Regions from separate parts of the Homo sapiens genome. Here all the other regions are linked to region 4. The links are contacts of gene promoters, found by promoter capture Hi-C in blood cells and fetal thymus (Javierre and others, 2016). All regions are on one chromosome and are shown on one strand. The core of a region is centred on a gene start or on the middle of the fragment in contact, and the rest is flanking DNA. Distances in the headings are between cores, read along the strand shown. Region 1 overlaps JKAMP (JNK1/MAPK8 associated membrane protein). Region 2 overlaps L3HYPDH (trans-L-3-hydroxyproline dehydratase). Region 3 overlaps SLC38A6 (solute carrier family 38 member 6). Region 4 holds the start of PCNX4-DT (PCNX4 divergent transcript).

Region 1 (5,040 bases), core at 148-2,647, 600 kb after region 4:
ATGTCATGTACATTTTTTCTACTTCTTTGGTGGTCTTGGCTATTCCTGGCCCTTTGCTCTTCCATATAAATTTTAAAATTGGCTTGTCAAGTGCTCAGATAAATCCTATGTAACTTAATGGTCTGAGCTATGTCACAGTACTTGTACTGTACATGGAATATAGGAAATAGTTTCATATATTTATCTTATAGTCAACCTTTTTATTAAACTGTCTTGTTATTTCTAATATCTAGTCTATAGGTGATTTTGAGTTTTCTACTTGAACACTGTTTCCATTATGTATCATTGCATAGCAAACTACCTCAATACTTAGTGGCTTGAAACAAGAACCACTGATCATTTCTCACTATTTTGTGATGTGACTGGGCTCAACTGGGCAGTTCTTTCTGCTCCACATGGTGTCAATTTGGGAAGCACTGGTCTAGAGGCTTGACCATGCTGCAGCATTTAAAAGGACTAACTCACATGGCTGCAGTAAGTGCTGGCTGTTAGCTGGAAGCACAACCAAGGCTGTTAACAGGTGTGCCTTGGTTCTCTTCCATATGGCTTCTCTTTTGTTTTCAGTACTCTGCAGTTTAATTATGATGCATGCAGGTGTGAATTTCTGTTTATTCTGCTTGGGATGTGTTTTCCTTCTGGGATCTGTGAATCGGTTTCTCATTATTTTTGTAAAACCTGAAGCCAGTTATCTCTTAAAATACCAGCTCTCCTTGGCTGGGCGTGGTGGCTCACGCCTGTAATCCCAGCACTTTGGGAGGCCGGGGCGGGTGGATCACGAGGTCAGGAAATCAAGACCATCCTGGCTAACACAGTGAAACCCCGTCTCTACTAAAGATACAAAAAAATTGGCCGGGCGTGGTGGCAGGCGCCTGTAGTCCCAGCTACTCGGGAGGCTGAGGCAGGAGAATGACGTGAACCTGGGAGGCGAAGCTTGCAGTGAGCCGAGGTCGCACCACCGCACTCCAGCCTGGGCAACAGAGCAAGACTCGTCTCAAAAAAAAAAAAAAAAAAATAGCAGCTCTCCTTCATAGTCTCTATTTTTCCAGAGACCCTAATTAGATACTTTGGGCAAAGACTTAACAAAACATTTATGCTGTGCATGAGAATCTGGGCTTCAGGTAACTCTCTAGCTCTTTTCCTCTGGAAGCCTGATAAGGATAGAATGTCAACTATATTGCTAGGCAACACTGCTTATGATACAAATGATCCTTGCCTGGTAAATTATATCTCGACTGGGGAGAACCATAAATGAACTATAAATGCCTGATGGGGATACCATGGTTTGGCTTTCTTGAGTTCAGTGACTCTTATAATTGGCATGTCACTTGCAGGACCCCAGAAGTTCATGGAATTGTTATAAGAGAGACTGGCTTCTGTGAGGTGTAAGACTTTAAGCCTGGACCACTCCCACACCTACCCAACATGGATCTCACCTTCTTGCACCTGATTTTCCATCTCCTTCTTTCTCAGTGCAATATTCCATTATTTCTATGCATTTTTTTCTAGTTCACTAATTCTATCTTCAACTGTTTAATCTGCTGACTACCTTTTTTTTTATTTTGGCAAGTATAAACTTTCATTTCTAAAAGTTTCCTTTTCTTCCCCATCACATGTATTTATTCCTAATAATCTTATTGTTATGGACAGCTTGTGACTACATCCTTACTTTCTTTATAGGTAGCAGTTACATATCCTGTAGGTGAAAGTCCATTATCTGTGTCCTCTCAGAGCATAAATATATTGTTTGTTGCATGTACCAATAAGTCCTAGTGCTATTTTATTTAGTAACCACAGACTATGAGGCCATTACTAGATTTTAATGAGCAAGAGTCTTACAGGGTTAAATTGAGAATGGGGAAGCTTTCCAGCAAAGAGGCTCTGCTACTTTTGTCAGCAGCCATGGCCACTACTACCTTAGGCTTCAGGCCCTTGAGGGTCTAGTCTTAGCAGAGGCTACCCAAGATTCAGTATCCAGATAACACTGCTGCTACCAGCAATTGACCTCAGACAACCCTCTCATCCCAACTGCCTGCCTTGTCACTCTGGCCTAACTCAGGGTGGGCTGGTTTGTGTTTTGAAAGAGAAGAGTTCCTGGAGATCTCTCCATCTCCAGCTGGGACCAGCAATGTCTCACATAGTTTATCTTTCCCAGACTTTAGTTATTTCATGCAGGTGGGTCACTTGGAGCTCCTAATTAACTCACATTGTTGGAAACAGAACTCCTGTGCCATTTTACAAAGATGAAAACACTGAAAACATAAACACACATTCACATTACATAATTTGACATTTTGCTTCCTTATAGAATTAATATTTTCAGAGGCAAAATCCCAACTTCATTATTTCTTGCCATTACTTTGATAACCTTCTTAACTGGTCTTCTTGTCATGTTCTCTTTCAACCTATCTACAGCCAGACACATAATCTTTACAAAATGAAATACAATTTTAGAACTCCTCTCATTAAACTAATTTTGAGTCTTTTTGTCTTTCTGGAAAAATACCCCCACCAGCATCGTCTTCTCTATTTCCTGGCCATGCTAAATGACTTTAAGTTCACTTGTGCCTCCACACATCTGGGCATGCATCACCCTCCACCTCAAACACATTTTACCTATCTGCCAAACCATGCATCCTTCCAGATCAGCTCAGGGGTTATCCCCAGTTTTTATGAACATTTGTTAAGACACCTCCAGCCCCCATCTATCTGGACTGTAAGTGCAAAATTTCAGGAAACTGTAAGAGATGGCCCTTGTGGTCCTTGTTACCAATTTCCTAGGCAAAGCACAGTTGTACAACTCCCTCTTTTTAAACCCACCTCCTTTCCTGTCTGAGCATTAGTCACTCCTCGCCTTCCCTCAAACCACCCTCTAGTCTCTGCTTCAAGTCTCTCCCTCAAAACATAGCTGACGTCTGAATTCAAACGCATTTGGTGAAGACATACCTATGCCTGTTAGCTCTTCTTTACTGTGGGCTGAGAACTTCCCACCAATTGACTGGACAATTATTCTATTTCAGCTTTGTCATATCTCCTTTCTCACCCCATCTCTCATCATTCTATTAATATAACAGAAATTAAAAACTGGATGAAAGCTGCTATTTTTAAAGTATTTTTATAAATTATTCTAAAAAATTATAAATGCTTTCCCAATGTAAATAACCACCCTGGATTTATTAGGTAGGCCCCAGAAAACTGCTGATTCTATTTCTATCTGACCATCCTTTCCATTTCCATTCCAACTACCATAGTCTATTTCTTTGACAACAGTCTTCTATTAAATATCTCACCTCTAATCTACCTACCCTCCACAGAAATTTTCTTCCTAAAATATACATCAAATGATGCCACTTCCATACACCAGACCTTCACCAATAAACGATTCACTCAAATACGGAGTGATTTTTTTGGATGCTCATTCCCTCCAAATCTCATGTTGAAATGTAATCCTCAGTGAGGTGGGGCCTAGTGGGAAGTATTTGGGTCATGGGAGTGGAAGCCTCATGAATGACTTGGAGCTGTGCTCACAGTAATGAGTGAGTTCTCACTCTGTGAGTTCATGTGAGATTTGGTTGTTTAAAAGATCCTGGTGGCTGGGCATGGTGGCTCACATCTATAATCCCAGCACTTTGGGAGGCTGAGGCAGGAGGACTGCTTGCGCCCAGGAGATCGAGACCAGCCTGGGCAACATAGAGAGACCCTGTCTCTACAAAATATAAAAAATTAGCAGGGTATGGTGGTACACGCCTGTAGTCCCAGCTACTTGGAAGGCTGAGATGGGAAGATCACTTGAGCCTAGGAAGTCAAGGTTGCAGTAACCAGTGATCACACCACTGCAATACAGCCTAGGTGACAAACCAGGACATTGTCTCGAAAAATAAAAACGAAAAGATAAATTAAAAAATAAAACATTAAAAAAAATGAAAGAAAGAGGTACCTCCTCCCCCTATCACCATGTGGTTCCCCTTTGCCTCCTGCCTCCTCTCACACTGGTTCCCCTTTGCCTTCTGCCATGATTGTAAGCTTCCTCAAGCCATCACCAGAAGCAGATGCCAGTACTATGCTTCATGTACAGCCTGCAAAACCATGGGCCAATTAAACCTCTTTTCTTTATAAATTACCCAGTCTCAGGTATTCCTTTATAGTAATGGAAATGGACTAACAGAAAACTGAAACTGAAGGGTAGGGCAGTGCTATAAAGATACCCAGCTTTGGAGCTGGGTACCAGACAGAGGCTGAAAGTGTTTGGAGGTCTCAGAAGAAGACAGGAAGGTGAGGGAAAGCGTGGAACATCTTAGAGCCTTAAGTGGCTGTGACCAAAATGCTGACAGAAATGTAGACAGTGAAGGCCAGGCTGATGAGGTCTCACATGGAATTAAGGAAGTTATCAGGAACTGTAGTAAAGGTCATCCATACTATGCCCTAGCAAAGAACTCTGCTGCATTGTGTCCATGTCCTAGGCATCTGTGGAAGTTGGAACTTAAGAGTGATGACTTAGGGTATCTAGTGGAAGAAATCATTAAGCAACAAAACATCCAAGATGTGCTGTGGCTGCTTCTAACAGCCTATGATCAGATAGATGTGGGAGCAAAGGAATGACTTAAAAATTGGGACTTATACTTAAAAAGGAAAGCGGAGTCTAAAAGTTTGGAAAATGTGCAGCCTGGCCATGTGGTAGAGAAGAAAAGCATTTTCAGGAGAGGAATTCAACCAGGCTGTACAGCAACTTGCTAGAGAGGTTAGCATGGCTAAAAGAGAGCCAAGTGCTAATAGCCAACACAATGAGAAAAAGGCTTGAAGGCATTTCAGAAGTCTTTCAGACTGCCTGTCCGACCACAGGCCCAGAGGCCTAGAAGGAAAGAATAGAAAGTAGGCTGTCTTCCTTATTTTTCTCTTTTAATTGGGCACTCTTTGTTTTGTTGTTGTTGTTTTGTTTTTAGTACTCAACTTTCTGAGTGACTTTTAAACTGAAATCAGAAGGAAAAGAAGGTAGCTAGGTAACAAGTTGCAGTCAGATGAAGAGAGTATTTCAGACAGCAGAAA
Region 2 (5,146 bases), core at 743-3,242, 620 kb after region 4:
TGTTGACTATTCACACTGCTGAAGCAGATTTAGGAAAAGGCCATGGGGATGGAGAGTTAAAGTTAATATAAATTCATCTTAATTCATTCACTCTTTTAACAAACATTTACCACAAACATACTGTATATATGTTAGACATTCTGCTAGATCCTGGAGACTCGAAGAAAGAACAAACCCCACCTTTGAGGAGCTAGCTCCAGTTGGGGAAGCGAGCATACCTGTGAACAGTGTTATGTTGGAATGTGCTATAGTGGAGGTGGGGCGTATCACTTTAAGAGGATGGAGAACAAAGATTCAATCTGCAGGCCGCTTTAACTTGGTTTCAGATGGACTCTTTGGATGTTAAGAACCCAAAGCTGTTCCATTGCTTTAAATGACATGTAACTGGAAGTAGAAAGTACTAATTGTAAGCATATACAAGGGAAGTCAGATTATAGCAATCTCAGTCATACTGTAAATGTTTGCAGAAATCCAGGAAAAGTTAAAGAACTAGACTTCCAAGAACAAGTAGCTTTGCATATTTGGGCCTGAATCTACCATTGAGTGACTTAGCTACCCTGCCAGTGCCTGCTTCTTTGTGTGCATATCTGCTGCTTTTTGATGAATCAACTGACTTCATCGTCTACAATAAATCTTTTTTTCCTCCAATTGTTTCTCTTGCCTAATAGTTTCTGCATTCTTACAGAATGTTATATCCTCTCACAGCCTTTGTCTCTATCATTGGTGTTAACTTCAGCTCTAGATACTCAGAGCCTGATTTTCCCACATTATCCTCCTTAAGCTCCTGAGAATAAGACTATGATTGCCTTAGCTCATCCTGTTTGAGCAGCCATCGCCAGCCTGTGGATTGACCATCCTGGGGTCAGTGCTGCAAAGACTATGTGTATTTGGGGTGGGAGGGGTGTATAAAATAGGACTGCTTTTTTAGCAAAGGCTATATGCAGGACAGCTTCCTTAGAAGGGACTCAAAGTATGATAAGAATTATAAATTGCAGTAAAACTATGTTTCTTCATCTAGACAAAGACATAATTTCTAGCAATTAGTATACGTTGCCCAAAAAGGTATTTTAAAAATGATAAGGATTAAAAAGTTATGTCTAAGAATGACCCATCTGCATTATTTATAAATTTGAATCAAAATATTTATTTTGCATGTGATCTTTTTTTGTTACTTGCAGTTTAAAATTAATCATCCTGATAGTGAAGACCTTGCCTTTTTATATGGAACTATATTAACAGATGGAAAAGATGCTTATACCAAGGAACCAACCACCAACATTTGTGTTTTTGCAGATGAACAGGTATTAAAACTGTAATGTTTAGGGACAAAAGCCAGGTAATATGGAACACACTATGAACATTCTGTCTTCATTTATTCTGAAACAGGTTGACAGAAGTCCCACTGGCTCAGGAGTGACAGCCCGAATTGCCTTACAGTATCACAAAGGGCTTCTGGAACTGAACCAGATGAGAGCCTTCAAAAGCAGTGCAACTGGCTCAGTATTCACAGGGAAAGCTGTGAGGGTAAGTGGCACCCTTAGCTTCTTATTTATAAATGTGTCACTCATGAGACTGGAGAGGCCTGAGTTGGGTGTTTGATAAATTTCTTCACTCAGCTCTCAGAAGAGAATTTTAAAGCAGGCCTGTAAAAACTTCTTTTCAACTAGGACATTGGTTATCCAGTGTGGTCTTGGGGCCCCAGCGGGCCCCTAAGGTCCTTTCCATGGGTTCAGAGGGTCAAAACTGTGTTCATAATAATGACATTATTTGCTTTTCACTCTCATTCTCTCAAGAGTGTACAGTGGGGTTCTTCAGAGGCTACGATGTGATATGTGATAACCCAACCAATTGAATGCAGAAGCTAGATATGAGAACCTAGTTGTCTTCTGTTAAGCCAGACATGAAACAGGTTTGCAAAAATATCAAACAATGCCACTTTTCTCATAATTTTTTTTGTTTTGGCAAACAGTTATTTTCACAAAAATGTGTTATTCATATGTTAATGTATAATGGGTTATTTTTAAAATGAAGTAATGAACAGATATATCCAATTCCTAATACAGTAAATATTGATAGATATAACTTATATAAAGAAAAACTCTTTGGGGTCCTCAAATCTTAAGGTATAAAAGGGTCCTAAGACCAAAAGGTTTGAGAACCATTAGGATTTGGGGTTTTTTTTTGTTTTTTTGTTTTATTTTATAATAGTGTTTTATTTGATATAATAGGATGTGAAAGCCCTGAAAAGTTGTGGAACATCAAATTTTTGTAATGGAATAAAATTTTAAATGTGCTAACAGCTAAGTAATGAATCTTATCTCAGTAGTAAATGAAATCTACTACAGAATGATCTACATTCAGTAAATTATTCTACTCATAAAGAGTCCTTTAACATAGCAAACAATCTATCCTAATATAGCTGTTTTTAAGATTTGGTGTTTCTGAATATTAGAGTTTCCTTAAGGATCTCTACATCATATAGTGATCTGAAACATGTGAAACCATTTATGTTGTATGCAAAAATTTGGAACATACTGTCTTCAAAATCTGAAATGGAACATAAAAATAACAACATACATTTATTGGATACTTCACTGTGCATCAGTTTCCAAGCTAAGCACTTGATACATGCCATCTCATTTAATCCTCACAAGAATCCTACAAGGTCAGTACTGTGCTGTTATTATCGTTTTTCAATAGATGATAAAACGGAGAATTGGAGAAGTTAGGTAATTTACCAGAGGTTAGTTAGTGAGTAGCAGATCCAGGTCATGAAGGTGGGTCTCTGAACAGACCACATGCTGTTAAGCATTATATTATATTGCTGTCAGACAAAGCAAAAGGTCAATGAGGCTTTATATTATAGGAGCTGTTATGAGAAGAATCTGGGATTGCAATGTCCCCCCAAATAGAGAGGGAGCCGAGAGACCAAAGAATGACTCAGACAAGTCCAGGTTGGCAAGTAGATGCATTTATTAGAACTTCCATATAAGGCACTCCTGGGAAGCAGCTGAACAACTGTGGAGACCCATCCTGCCTCCTGACTCTAAGCTGCTTTTAAGCTAATTTTCTGGCTCTTTGCCTACTGTGTATGTGTGATAGGACTGTTTTCCTTGGTATGTTCCCAGATATTCTCTGGGATATTTGGGTTCTCAGGGATACCTGCTTCTTGGCTGGGCACCATGCCCTTGGCTTACCCCCCAGCCTTCAGGGTTCAAGCAGTGGACATACACCCTTACATAACCTGGTGAAGGACCTGTCACACTACAGCAGCTTTATAAAAAGATATAAAAAGATAAAGTATTATACCCTAACAATATTTGACATTTTACCTTTAGCTTCAGTTATTATTCTTTTAAAAATTAGAACATAAAAAGATATGCTGAAGTTAATGTTTCCAGTTACTTGTTTTATAGTTATTGATCATGCTTGCCAGAATGTCTTCACTTGCATCATGCTCTCTCCCTGTCTGTGTGGGCCCGTCCAGGCTCCCTGATGGTACCTTCTCAGTTTCTTCCCCTGCTGCAGCTTCCTTTCCCTGTCCTTCCATTTAGATGTTACCGTCACTTCATCCCCACCTTCCTTCTCATCTCTTCTACAGTTTGATGCTGCTGGGCAATTTCATCCACTTCCTAGGCTTCAGTTCTCAACCATCTACTGATGATGACTCCCAAATGTTTATCCCTGCCCTGACTACCTACCCTGTATGTCTTTCTGAATATAACGCTCTTAATCCCAACTGTTTATTATACTCATCTCTAAATGACTGTCCCAGAGGTGTCTCAAACTCACCTTGTTAAAAAGTTCTTCCTTTCTTCCTTTCTCAAATGTGCTCTTCCTTTCTCTCCCCATTGTGTTTAATGGCATCACTAGCATCATTTCCAAGCTAGAAACTATGGTTATAATTAACTTATTGCTAGTCCTCAATTCCCACATGCATTGATCAAGAGGCCTATCAGTTCTACCTCCAAACTATCTCTATGTTAGTATATATTCCCCTTCTCCATCTTCACTGAAAACTCCCATAGTGACTCTGGAATCAATCATTCAGTGAATTGAGGTTATCTCTTAACATGTTTCTGGGTCTCTTGTCTCTCTCTTCTCCAGTTTGATCCCCACTTTACAGCTACAGTTATCTAAAACACAAGTCTGACCATGTCATTCTCCTTAAAAACCTTCCCTGGCCCATAGGATTAACCCTTGGCCTTTCCTTCACATGATAAAAGTCAAGAGTACAGTTTTCAAGCCAGATATAATACGAGTGCAATATTTTGATAGTATACTCCCTTCATCTTTTTTCAGGAAGCGAAATGTGGTGATTTTAAAGCTGTTATAGTGGAAGTATCAGGACAAGCCCATTACACGGGTACAGCAAGCTTTATAATAGAAGATGACGACCCATTGAGGGATGGATTTCTTCTCAAGTGACTTCTTCCATGATTTTAAGGGCTTTCTTTTTAAAGTAATCATTATCCTTAAGGACTGTTTTCTCTAAATTATATGAAAACAAATAAATTATACATATAAACTAACTCTCATTCTTTGTAAAATACTACCCTGTGGCTAAATATAAAGTCATTATACCTCGTATTTGCAACTGTATTTGTATAAATATCACTTATGTCTAGCATACAAAATGCCAGAAATTCAGAGTCTTTTTCTAGTGATTAACGTATCAGGTAAAATTAAAACAGTAGTTACTTTTAAAATATTGCTCTATAGTAATTACTATTAATATCATATTTTGTATTAAAGGCTCTTCGAATAATATGTGGAATTTAACTGAACTTTACAAGCTCATTATTTTTGTCTTCCATTTTTTTGAGTAGAATAATGCCCTCTCTATAAGCAGCATGTAAAGGAGATGGATTATTATAAAGTACTCAACACTTAGCACAACAGCCTGGGAAGGATGGGGCTGGAGTCAGCTTCTTTGTTATAGCTGCTGCCAGGGTGTTCTCTGTGGCACAAAGCCCAGCTTCTACATCCACAGGTACTGAAGTATCAGAGACTGATGCTGAGAAGACCAACTAGTAATCAGACTTTTGCTATATCTTCAGGGCTTTTATAAAAGGGGTTGCTTATTGCATTATTAAAATACAGATATACAGTAGAAATTAAGCAGTGAATCCTTACAATGGAATGA
Region 3 (4,712 bases), core at 1,996-4,495, 890 kb before region 4:
GTCTCAAGGCAAATAATGGTGACAATCCAGTGAGTAGTAGGGATCAACGACTAGGGAGTTGTGGTTCGGCCAGAGGTATGCAGAGTTCTAGGACTCTCACTCTCTCCAGTTGACAGTGACATGGAAGCCAGTGGAGGGGAGCTGTGGGTTTAGTATCAGAGCATGAGAAGTATTCCAAAAGAATGGCAACGAACCAACTATTTCTGAGATAGTAGTGTGTACAACACCCTGCAATCTTTAGGGATTTTTGCCCCAGTGGGCATTTTTGCCCCAGGGAGCACTCATTTGCCAAGGACTTGACATTTCATATACATTATTTTATTTCACTCTCAGAACAATTCCAAGAAGGAAGTGTTATCATTGCCATTTTACAGATGACAAACGAAGGCTAGAGAGAATAAGGTTCTTTACATTCCACCTCAGCTCCCATGAAAAGTCCTGATAGACCCCAAACGCTCCATAAAATCTAAAGTAGAATTTCATGTGAAGAAATCCTTTACTTTTATAAAGATGAAAATTTCTCTTTACCCTTTACCACCAGCAAATAAATGAAGAAGTTATTTCATAAAAACTCATGATAGCTCTTTCTCTTACCAATGAATTCAATCTGAGCATAATAATCCTTTATGACAGTCCAACAAACTGTTGGGAGAGAGTTAGTTACGTATTATACTCTAGTCTTTATATATGAATGTATGTATTGAAAAAAAAAAAAAAAAGGAAAAGCCTACCTCCACAGAGAATTTTACAAAGATTGAAGGAATTCAATCAACGGAAGACAGGTGAGTCAATGTGCAGGCAGAACCATGAAGTAGTTAGTTCATGGGCCCAAGTAGGCTACAGAAATCAAAGAAAAAGAAAAAAGAAGAGAAACAGATATATTCACTTCATACGCCCCAGAGTTACAGAAAAGAACAAACACAGTGTCAGAATCTTAAAGTTAAATACATGTGAACCGAAGGAGTAAAAAATTAAAATTACTTAGAAATCTCCACACACTGAATACTACTCCCACATAACCGAAATAAAACATTTTACTTAAATTAAAACTAAAATGAAGTTTTAAAATGAAGCTTGAAAGACATAATTGCCACATAGTTGACTAAAGTATTAATCTTTTAACAGAATGAATTGAAAGAATCTACCAAGATGTTAAAGTATCACAATTAAGTAAAATTTTTTTCACATTCAGCAAAATTTCAATACATGCAATTAAAATTCAAGTTTCAGCAGGATTTACAAATATATTTATCTAAAGCTATTATTCCTAAATTCAGGATGCTTTTATGAACAACCTGTTACTTTAGGATTAATATTTGTACTGCTTCCTAGTATTTTCATCTGTCTGCACATTCACCCAAGCCCCTTGAGAGCAAAGGCGTGCACTGGATGGCCAAAGCACTGTTAGAAGTTGTGGCTATAAACTATGAATCCTAAACTAGATTTGCATAAGAATCACTTGGAGGACTTGTTAAAAACATATCTGGCACTGGCTGGCCAAAGCACTGGTACAAGTTAGAGCTATAAACTATGGATCCTAAACTGGTTTTGCCTTGTTAAAAACATATTCTTGAGTCTCACCTCAGATTTTTGAAATTAGAATCCCTGAGGCTTAGAGCTCTCTGTGTATAAAAAGATCTATGAGTATTTCTGATGATGGACAGGTTTTAGGAAAACAAACTAGAGCAGTGGCTTCAGAATTATTCTGAAGAGTCTTAAAATTCTTAAGAAACATCACTGGGCTTCACTCACCTGTTTCAGCACAGAATAGTCTCACTGATATAGTTTGGTTTGTCAGACCCCTCCAAATCTCATGTTGAAATCAGATCCCCAGTGTTGGAGGTAGGGCCAAAGGGGAGGTGTTTGGGCCCTGGGGCCAGATCCCTCATGAATGGCTTGGTGCCTTCCTTGGGGTAATGAGTGAGTTTTCACTTTTATTAGTTTCATGAGAGCTGGTTGTTAAAAAGAACCTGGCATGCCCCTCCTCTCTCGCTTCCTCTCTTGCCATGTGATCTCTGCATATCCTAGCTCCCCTTCACCTTCCACAATGAATGAAAGCAGCCTGAGCCCCTTACTAGATGCAGATGGAGCAGAAAAGCCCCTCATAAGAAGGGCCATGCTTCTTGCAGAGCCTGTAGAACTATGAGCAAAATAAACCTCTTTTATTTATAAATTATGCAGCCTCAGGTATTCTTTTATAGAAACACTAAATGAATTAAGAAATCCATTTTTATCTATTTTGTGTATCTACTTTTCTTCTTAAAATCTGAACATCACAAGGCCAGATAAAGCAAAACGAACTCATCCATATAAGAATTAAACCCATGATTTTGGCATCAAAGCTGACCTAATCCAAAGACAAAAGAGACTAGACAGATAAAAAGACCAGGACTGATGAACATAGAATATTTGTTAATGACAAAAGGAAAATCTTAGAAAAGCACTTCTATAATTCATATACTTTTATTTACTGGATCCTAAAAGAACTTATTCAATACATGACTGAATTGCATAATAAAATTCCAAATGGGAAAAAGTATATACACAAATATATTGAATTAACTGCACATACTTATTTCTCTTAGGAAAAAACTACCCTATTCTAGACTTGCAATTAAAAATACAAAATGTGTCTAAATAAATTAAAGCTTTGTGACCTTACTTCCTACAATCCTAATTCTGCCATCCCTACCTCTGACTAGCAGGCAGATGGGGGCAGGGAAGGCAACAGTAGCTCTGAGAAGGTGTTCTCTCCTTGAGAAAATGATTTCTCCATAAGCATAAGGTTTGGATCCTTTGAACACCTTTTAGACCCTCCCATGATCTACTCTACTCCAGAAAATTAGGTTGTGTTGTGGAGGAAAGCAGGTAAAAATGCTAATTACCTCCTCCCATCCTGTGCTTGGATATTCCCCCACAGTATTGGGTCTGTATATCCTGGTTTTTCAAATTCTCCATTCCGATCACCCTATCTAATAAAAATGTATGCTCACTGGATATTAGATTTGAGACATCCAGTTCTATATGTAGATACAAACTCAAGAGACTCCTTTATTAAATGAAGCAGCATAACATTTTTACTCACCTGTCTGAATACACATACTAAGCAGAAGATGGACTGAGTAAGAAGCCAGGAGAGCAACTGTCAGCAGCAAGAAGCTAAAACATAAAAGAACACCTGGTCAAAACCTCCCAAAAGTTTGTCTTTTGTATGGTGTCTCATTACAAAAACAAATTGCTTAACAGTCAAATATTCACAGGAACTATCTCTGAGTAGCAGAATTATGTTCATTAAGGAAATTAAGAAGATACTTTTCTACTTTTTTGTATTTACCAATTTTATTTAAATGAAAATATACTGATTTTAAAATAAAAAAAAATAAAAACCAAACTTTTTTAAAAATACAAGCAAACTTCCTCATTTTGCAGTCTTGTCTGCTGACTGCTGAATCAGCCATTAAATAATCTTGTAATATTTCCTTTTTATGACTGGTTTTCTTCTTATTTTAAGTCTAAACAGAAGTTTTACTTATGCAATCTCATTGTCTTCTCTTTTTCCCTTCCTCCCTCTACTTCCAGTGATATTGACCTCCTTATCATACCTTCATCTTATTAAGGTGTACTTAAGATTTATTTAGGCTGTATTTTCTAGCATCTATTAAACGCACACACTCTCCAAACCAAACTAAATTAAAATAATGTAGTTAACACACCTCTAATGATGCAATTTGAAAAATGTGCAAACAATGTAATGATTGAGGTCCTCTCACCAACAGTGTGAAAGAAAAAACTTAGATAATTTCCTATTCATTTTTAGGAAGACACCAGCAGGACAAGCTTCTATACAGCTATCCCCAGTGAACTGCCCCAGTCATTGAAGAAATTTTCTCTCTGTGGTCCAGTTAATACTTGTTAATAAATAAAATTGAGAGGTAAAAGTACAAATGTCATTAAACTGACATCAGGAACTTCACAAAATAACACTTTAGCATCACCAAAAATGATGGTTGCTATGACTGGGTGAGCACACATTCAGCAGTATATATCTGCATGTAAGACCCTGGTGCATAAATTATGATTTTTCAAAGAGAATCAAAAAAAAAGTCCTCTGACTATGTCTTGCTTAAGGTGTCACATATAGTTTTTAATTTTAAAAATAATGAAAGTTTGTGAGTACATTCCATAATAAAAGCAAGTTGGGTTACTTAAAAGTTGCTTTGCTTATCAAAAAATTTGGAATAAAAGCAGGAAATAAACATAAAAGAGACTCCCTAGGCATTTTAAATTTCCTAGTAAATAGATCTGCTTCTACTGACAAAGCCAATTTGTTAATTCATTCTATTAGCCATGTGGTGCTAGATGCTAAGAATAAGGTCCAGTTATAAAGGATTTTTCTATTTTTTAAATTTTTTAGACAGGATCTCACTCTGTCACCCAGGCTAGAGTGCAGTAGCCCAATCATGGCTCACTGCAGCCTCAACCTCTCAGGCTCAAGCAGTCCTCCCAAGTAGCTAGGACTACAGGCGCACTCCACCATACCAGGCTAATTTTTGTATTTTGGGCAGAGATGGGGTTTCACCATCTTGCCCAGGTTGGTCTCAAACTCGTGGGTTCCAGTGATCCGCCTGCCTTGACCTCCAGTTGTAAAGGATTTCAGTTTAGTGGGAACATTAATTTCCAAACATATCATTGTAACAATTATAATAACAGAA
Region 4 (5,000 bases), core at 1,427-3,926:
AAAATGCTGGGGGACTTACAAAATGGTGCAGTTTGGACTAACAACTGCCAAATGAAAGCGAATTTTGTTTTGATGCTAGAGAACTGGAAGGATAACTTGGGGGAATAGGGTTCTTTGGAGAAAAGTGGGTCCAAGAGGAATCTACAAAGTGTAAAAATGGGACGCTTTTGATGGCTAAGCCAGCATGAGGGGGTTGGTATCCAGTACCCTTTCACAAGACAAGTGAGAAACTGTTTAAAAAACAAGGTTCTCACCATCATGAAAGTGAGAACAACCTATAGAATGGAAGAAAATTTGTGCAAATCATATATATATATGACTTATAGCTAGACTATATAAAGAACTCTTACAATTCAATAATGAGAAATCAAATAATCCAATCTTTAAAAAATGAGCAAAGGATATGAACAGACATTTCTCCAAAGATGATATACAAATGGTTAATAAGCACAGAAAATATAAAATGATACTCAACATCATTACTCATTAGAAAAACACAAACTGAAACCATAATGAGGTACCATTTCAAACCTCCTTGACTGGCTAAAATAAAAATGGCAGACAATAATAAGTATTCATGAGACTGTGGAGAAATCAGAACCCTCAAACATATCTGGTGGTTATGTAAAATGATACAGCTCCTTTGGGAAACAGTCTAGCAGTTCCTCAAAAGGCTAAACATAGAGTTACCATATAACCCAGTAATTCTACTCTCAGGTATACACCCAACAGAGATAAAAACATATATGTCTACACAAAAATCTGTACACAAAAGATTCATAGAAGAAATATTACTAACAGCCAAAAAATGAAAACAACCCAAATGTCCATCAATGAATGGATAAATGTGATATATCCACACAATGAAATTAGACTATAAAAAGGAATGAAGTACTCATACATTCTACAACATGGCTGAACCTTGAAAACACACTAAGTGAAAGCCCGTTACAAAAGGCCACATATTGTATTTTCCCGTCTATGTGAAATGTCCAAAATAAGCAAATTTATGGGGACAGAAAACAGATTAGTAATTGCTTATGGCTGGTGGGGTAAGGATAATGGGGGGAGGGAGGTGGTGACTGCTGAGGGTAAAAGGTTTCTTTTTGGGGTGATGAAAATGTTCCAAACTTGACTGTGGTAAGGGTTGCACAATTCTATAAATGGGTGAATTGTATTGAATGTAAATTACATCTCAATAAAGCTCTTAAAAAAGAAAAAGCTTCCCTGATTGGTATTTTCCACAGCAGTTAATAATTAGAAGGCAGCTCTTTAAGTAGGAAATTTAGGAGCAGCCAACAGATGCTACAAACAGTTAAATTCGTGAAAAGGCAACATCTGAACTGGATGCTATGCTAAAGGTCTGGGGATTTGGCGTGAGTGGCGGTGGATACCAAATAACATGAAGGGCAGTCTTTGCCCTAACTGCAGGAATGATTTAATGAAGAAAACAAACACCTAAAAATAGTAAAAAATGAGTAAGTGAAAAATGATGGATACAGAGCAGATAACCAATTCAGCGGCATGGAAAACAACTTCCGATTCACTGGAGTAAATTCTGGTCCTGGAGAGACAAGAGGTTGTGGGGACAGAGGTCGAGATCAGTGGGGAAGGAGCGCTTCACGTTCAGGGGGCCATGAGTTGAACAATTCGGACAAAAGAGGTTTAGTTGGAGATATTGCGAGAGTACAGTTCTACCTAACGGACACAGCTCCGGGTGGGTGTGCCATATTCCATTTCGTACGAGTCTCTTAGAAACAAAATGCTACAATTCAACAGGCTAAAGTAGTCTTTCAAAGGAAAGTTAAAATCACACTGAATTACTATCTCTAATGACTGAGTTCATTAAGCGCAATAATTGCACTTAAAGGTTTTGCAACGAAAAACGAAAAATATGTTTCTTGTGGCAATGAAAGCCCCTAGAACAACTTGGCTCTCCGCACAGGCTTGGACATTAAGATGCCGAAGAAGTCCCGAGGTGGACGTCGGACAACGAACGTACCTCAAGTCACCCGAGGGAAGAGAAGACGCGAAGGCATCCCAGGGACCGCATTTTTGCAGGTAAACTCGGGCTGGGCGCTCCCGCCGGGAGGTTGGTTAGTGCCCGAATGCGGAGGCAGAAAAGCTGCGGCGGCCGAATAACGAGCTCACCGCGGCCCCGCCCGGGCCAGCTCTCGGTTTCCATGGCTAACGTCTACTCCGGCGGCCGCCACCCGGAGCTGAACGGAGCGCGTGCGCGTTCGGGGACCTCGTCGGCGCCTGGCTGGCCTCGCTGCCCCGGTCTGTGCTCGCTCCCGAGGCGGGCCCTGCCGTAAAGCAGGCTTGGCCTAGAGGAAGCAGGGAAATAGCGCGCTTCGTTCGCGCCAGGACTAGGCCAACATCTGCCTGGCCGGGGACGACGGGAGTCGCTCGTGCTCTGGTCTCGCACTGGGCCTAGCAGAAGCAGCAGCGGGGAAAGCCGAGACGCCCTGAACGTTCCCTTGGGCCGGGCCTTTACGCAAGAGCGTCGTTGCCCTGGTGACGTGACGTCCTTCCTCAGGATTGTGCGCCGGGGTGGGGAAACAGACGTGCAACCGCCATTTTGCGCATTAATTTACCAGAGGTCGGGTCAGGCTGTCTTAACGCAGGCAGAGGGGTGTGGCAGATCTCCAACCGCTCGGGGTCCCGTGATTTCCATTAATGAATTCGCACACTGGCGTTACCACTCAACACACCGACGGTAATGAATGTTTTTGAGTGATACTTCATGCAGCCTATTCGGCTTGGACGATTGGGGACTGCATAACGTGATCGCTATCGCCTCAGTTTGTGGCTGCGTTTTAAAATACAAGGAACCAACATGTCCATTATAGAAACGTGTTATTAAGATATTAATAAAACAAGGCAGAGTTCCGGCGTTCCAATTAAAAGGCCATGGCTGATTCATATTAGTGTGGCGGGAATCTTTACAGCCTGGCCGCAAAGACCCCAATTAACGCTAGTTAAAAAGTTATCCCTATACCCAGGGCTCACCTCCCCCATTCTCCACGAAATATGATCCCCCCCCCGCCCCACCAAGTTCTGGACACGTTCCAGATTGCCAACTGGGAGTCCTCAAGACGGCCCCGGAGAGCGTTAACAATGATTGGTCTCAGCTGATTTAGAGGCTCGGGTAAGGGAACTTTGAAGCTAACTTGTCGGTATCAAGGTACCCGCAATTCCCCCATGTGATTGGGTAGATGCCCTAGCAGTTCTGCACACTTCAGCGTCCAAGATGACTTGTGGACTGTTTTGTTTGGATCTCCATTCCTCAAAACTATAAATGCGGCCTTAATTTTTTTTTTTTTTTAATTCTTGGCTCTTGGCTGTCTTGGAAATGCTGACTTTGTATTTAAGTATTTAGGTTTTCAGGTCGTAATAGAAAAATAATTACTGTGTTCATATTAAAAGCCAAAGCTTTATTTATTTATTTTTAAGATATTGTGTCCAGAGCAAAAGTGTAGTGTGTTGAAAGCATGTGGAAGAAAACCCCGGATATACATATACTTGTCTTCAAGGACTTAATTTGCAGGTAGACCCTTTCATAGTTTGGTATCTTCACGATTTGATAGAATATGGGAAAACGTGCTGTTGGTCCATCCATAGTTTTTCTCATTGAAGCTCACTCATTGCGGGTCAGAGTACCACATTAAGCATCTCGGAAGCATCACTTACCGCCAAGAAGTCTGAGTTTCATGTAATTAAGAGTGGAGGCTCCAGAGTCAGGAAGTCTGGGTTGAAACCCTGGCACTACTGCTTACTACTTGTGAGATCTTGAGGTTATGTAATTTCTCTAGTGCTCAGTTTCCCCATATCTTGTAAAATAAGGCAAATAATAGAACTTAACCCGCAGAGAGTTATGTCATTGGATTAAATCAAATAATTGTAAATTGCTTAGCAGAGTAAATGGCACAGCTTAAGTGCTTAGTAAGGATGAGCTATTATCTTTATGTAGAGAGTCTGTATTTATGCTTGTTCTTCTCATGGGCATTACATATGACCCAAGCAGAATTAACATGTTTATTGTTGAAATATCTGCTGTTTTTCAAATATATTTGAACATCGTGCTTTCTTAGAATAAAATTAGTAGGGCATATGGTACAAGCCCTTTGGTTAGCTGTGTATAAAATATTCATTCAACATTTATTGAAATAGTGAAGGGAATAGTGGTTCCTATTTGTCAGGAACTACACTAATTGCTGCAGATATAAAGTCAAATAAAACATGATCCTTAAGGAATTTACCAAAATATAACTTGGACATCAAGGACATAACTTGAACAACAAGGACATCAGTAATTACAGTGTATGTGATAAACAGGTATGCGCTGAGCTTCAGAAACAAAGTGGGACACATAATTCTGGGGAAATTAAGGATGGTTGCAATCCATTTTTAAAGGGTGAGTGGACAGCTGGGCCAGGCGTGGTGGCTCTTGCCTGCAATCCTAGCACTTTGGGAGGCTGAGGTAGGAGGATCGCTTGAGCCTAGGAGTTTGAGGCAACATGGTGAAACCCTGTCTCTACAAAAGATACAAAAAATTAGCCAGGTGTGGTTGTGTGCGCCTGTGGTCCCAGCTACTCAGAGGCTGAGGTAAGAGGTTGTTGCAGTGAGCCGAAATTGCACCACTGCACTCCAGCCTGGACAACAGAGTGAGATCTTGTCTCAAAAAAAAAAAAACAAAACAAAAACAAAAACAGAGTTAGCTGGGAGAAGAGGTATTCCAGGTAGGGGAACATTTATTCTTTAATTCATTCAACACATACTTAGAGCATACATAGAATCAGTACTTTGTGTACCTCATTTAATCTTAACCTTATGAGGTAGCTTATTATTATTTCAAATGTAAGGAATCTGAGCTTGAGAAAAGTAAAATAAGTGATGACATCTGGAGTTGAGTCCGTATCTGTATGTCTTCAAGATTCGTGTATTTTTTCCTACCCTGCTGATTCACATAAAATGAAACAAATTGTGAAAAATCTGGA

What was found. The method cuts DNA at HindIII sites, captures the fragments that hold promoters and counts their contacts. A CHiCAGO score of 5 or more calls a contact.
Region 1: a contact is called between a fragment that was not itself captured here and the fragment with the promoter of PCNX4-DT in region 4, in 1 of 17 cell types (erythroblasts). The highest score is 5.2, in erythroblasts.
Region 2: a fragment that was not itself captured here is called in contact with the fragment with the promoter of PCNX4-DT in region 4 in 2 of 17 cell types (neutrophils and total CD8 T cells); the score reaches 6.6 in neutrophils.
Region 3: a contact is called between a fragment that was not itself captured here and the fragment with the promoter of PCNX4-DT in region 4, in 1 of 17 cell types (fetal thymus). The highest score is 5.0, in fetal thymus.

What each region holds. Positions count from the first base shown.
Region 1 is chr14:59,488,770-59,493,809 of GRCh38, reverse strand. All of the region lies in intron 3 of JKAMP (JNK1/MAPK8 associated membrane protein), which reads right to left. LOC124903326 (a long non-coding RNA gene) reads right to left here. Exons shown (of 2, transcript XR_007064196.1): 1 at 2,944-5,040; 2 at 1,759-2,249. It also overlaps a transcript of L3HYPDH not described here. Among named protein-coding and RNA genes, the nearest start is that of JKAMP, 6.8 kb to the right of the region's middle. The HindIII fragment of the contact is 930 bases long and covers 933-1,862 here.
Region 2 is chr14:59,472,247-59,477,392 of GRCh38, reverse strand. L3HYPDH (trans-L-3-hydroxyproline dehydratase) reads left to right here. Exons shown (of 5, transcript NM_144581.2): 3 at 1,179-1,301; 4 at 1,387-1,524; 5 at 4,303-4,787. The coding sequence ends at 4,428. Among named protein-coding and RNA genes, the nearest start is that of GPR135, 9.4 kb to the right of the region's middle. The HindIII fragment of the contact is 4,772 bases long and covers 1-4,378 here.
Region 3 is chr14:60,983,177-60,987,888 of GRCh38, reverse strand. SLC38A6 (solute carrier family 38 member 6) reads right to left here. Exons shown (of 16, transcript NM_153811.3): 3 at 3,086-3,159. Among named protein-coding and RNA genes, the nearest start is that of SLC38A6, 4.3 kb to the right of the region's middle. The HindIII fragment of the contact is 1,189 bases long and covers 2,651-3,839 here.
Region 4 is chr14:60,089,422-60,094,421 of GRCh38, reverse strand. PCNX4-DT (PCNX4 divergent transcript) reads left to right here and starts at 2,676. Exons shown (of 5, transcript XR_943918.4): 1 at 2,676-2,719. PCNX4 (pecanex 4) reads right to left here and starts at 2,499. Exons shown (of 11, transcript NM_001330177.2): 1 at 2,003-2,499. RefSeq lists enhancers at 1-14, 1-91, 1,672-2,305, 2,269-2,458, 2,549-2,678 and a silencer at 1-91. The HindIII fragment of the contact is 2,213 bases long and covers 1,225-3,437 here.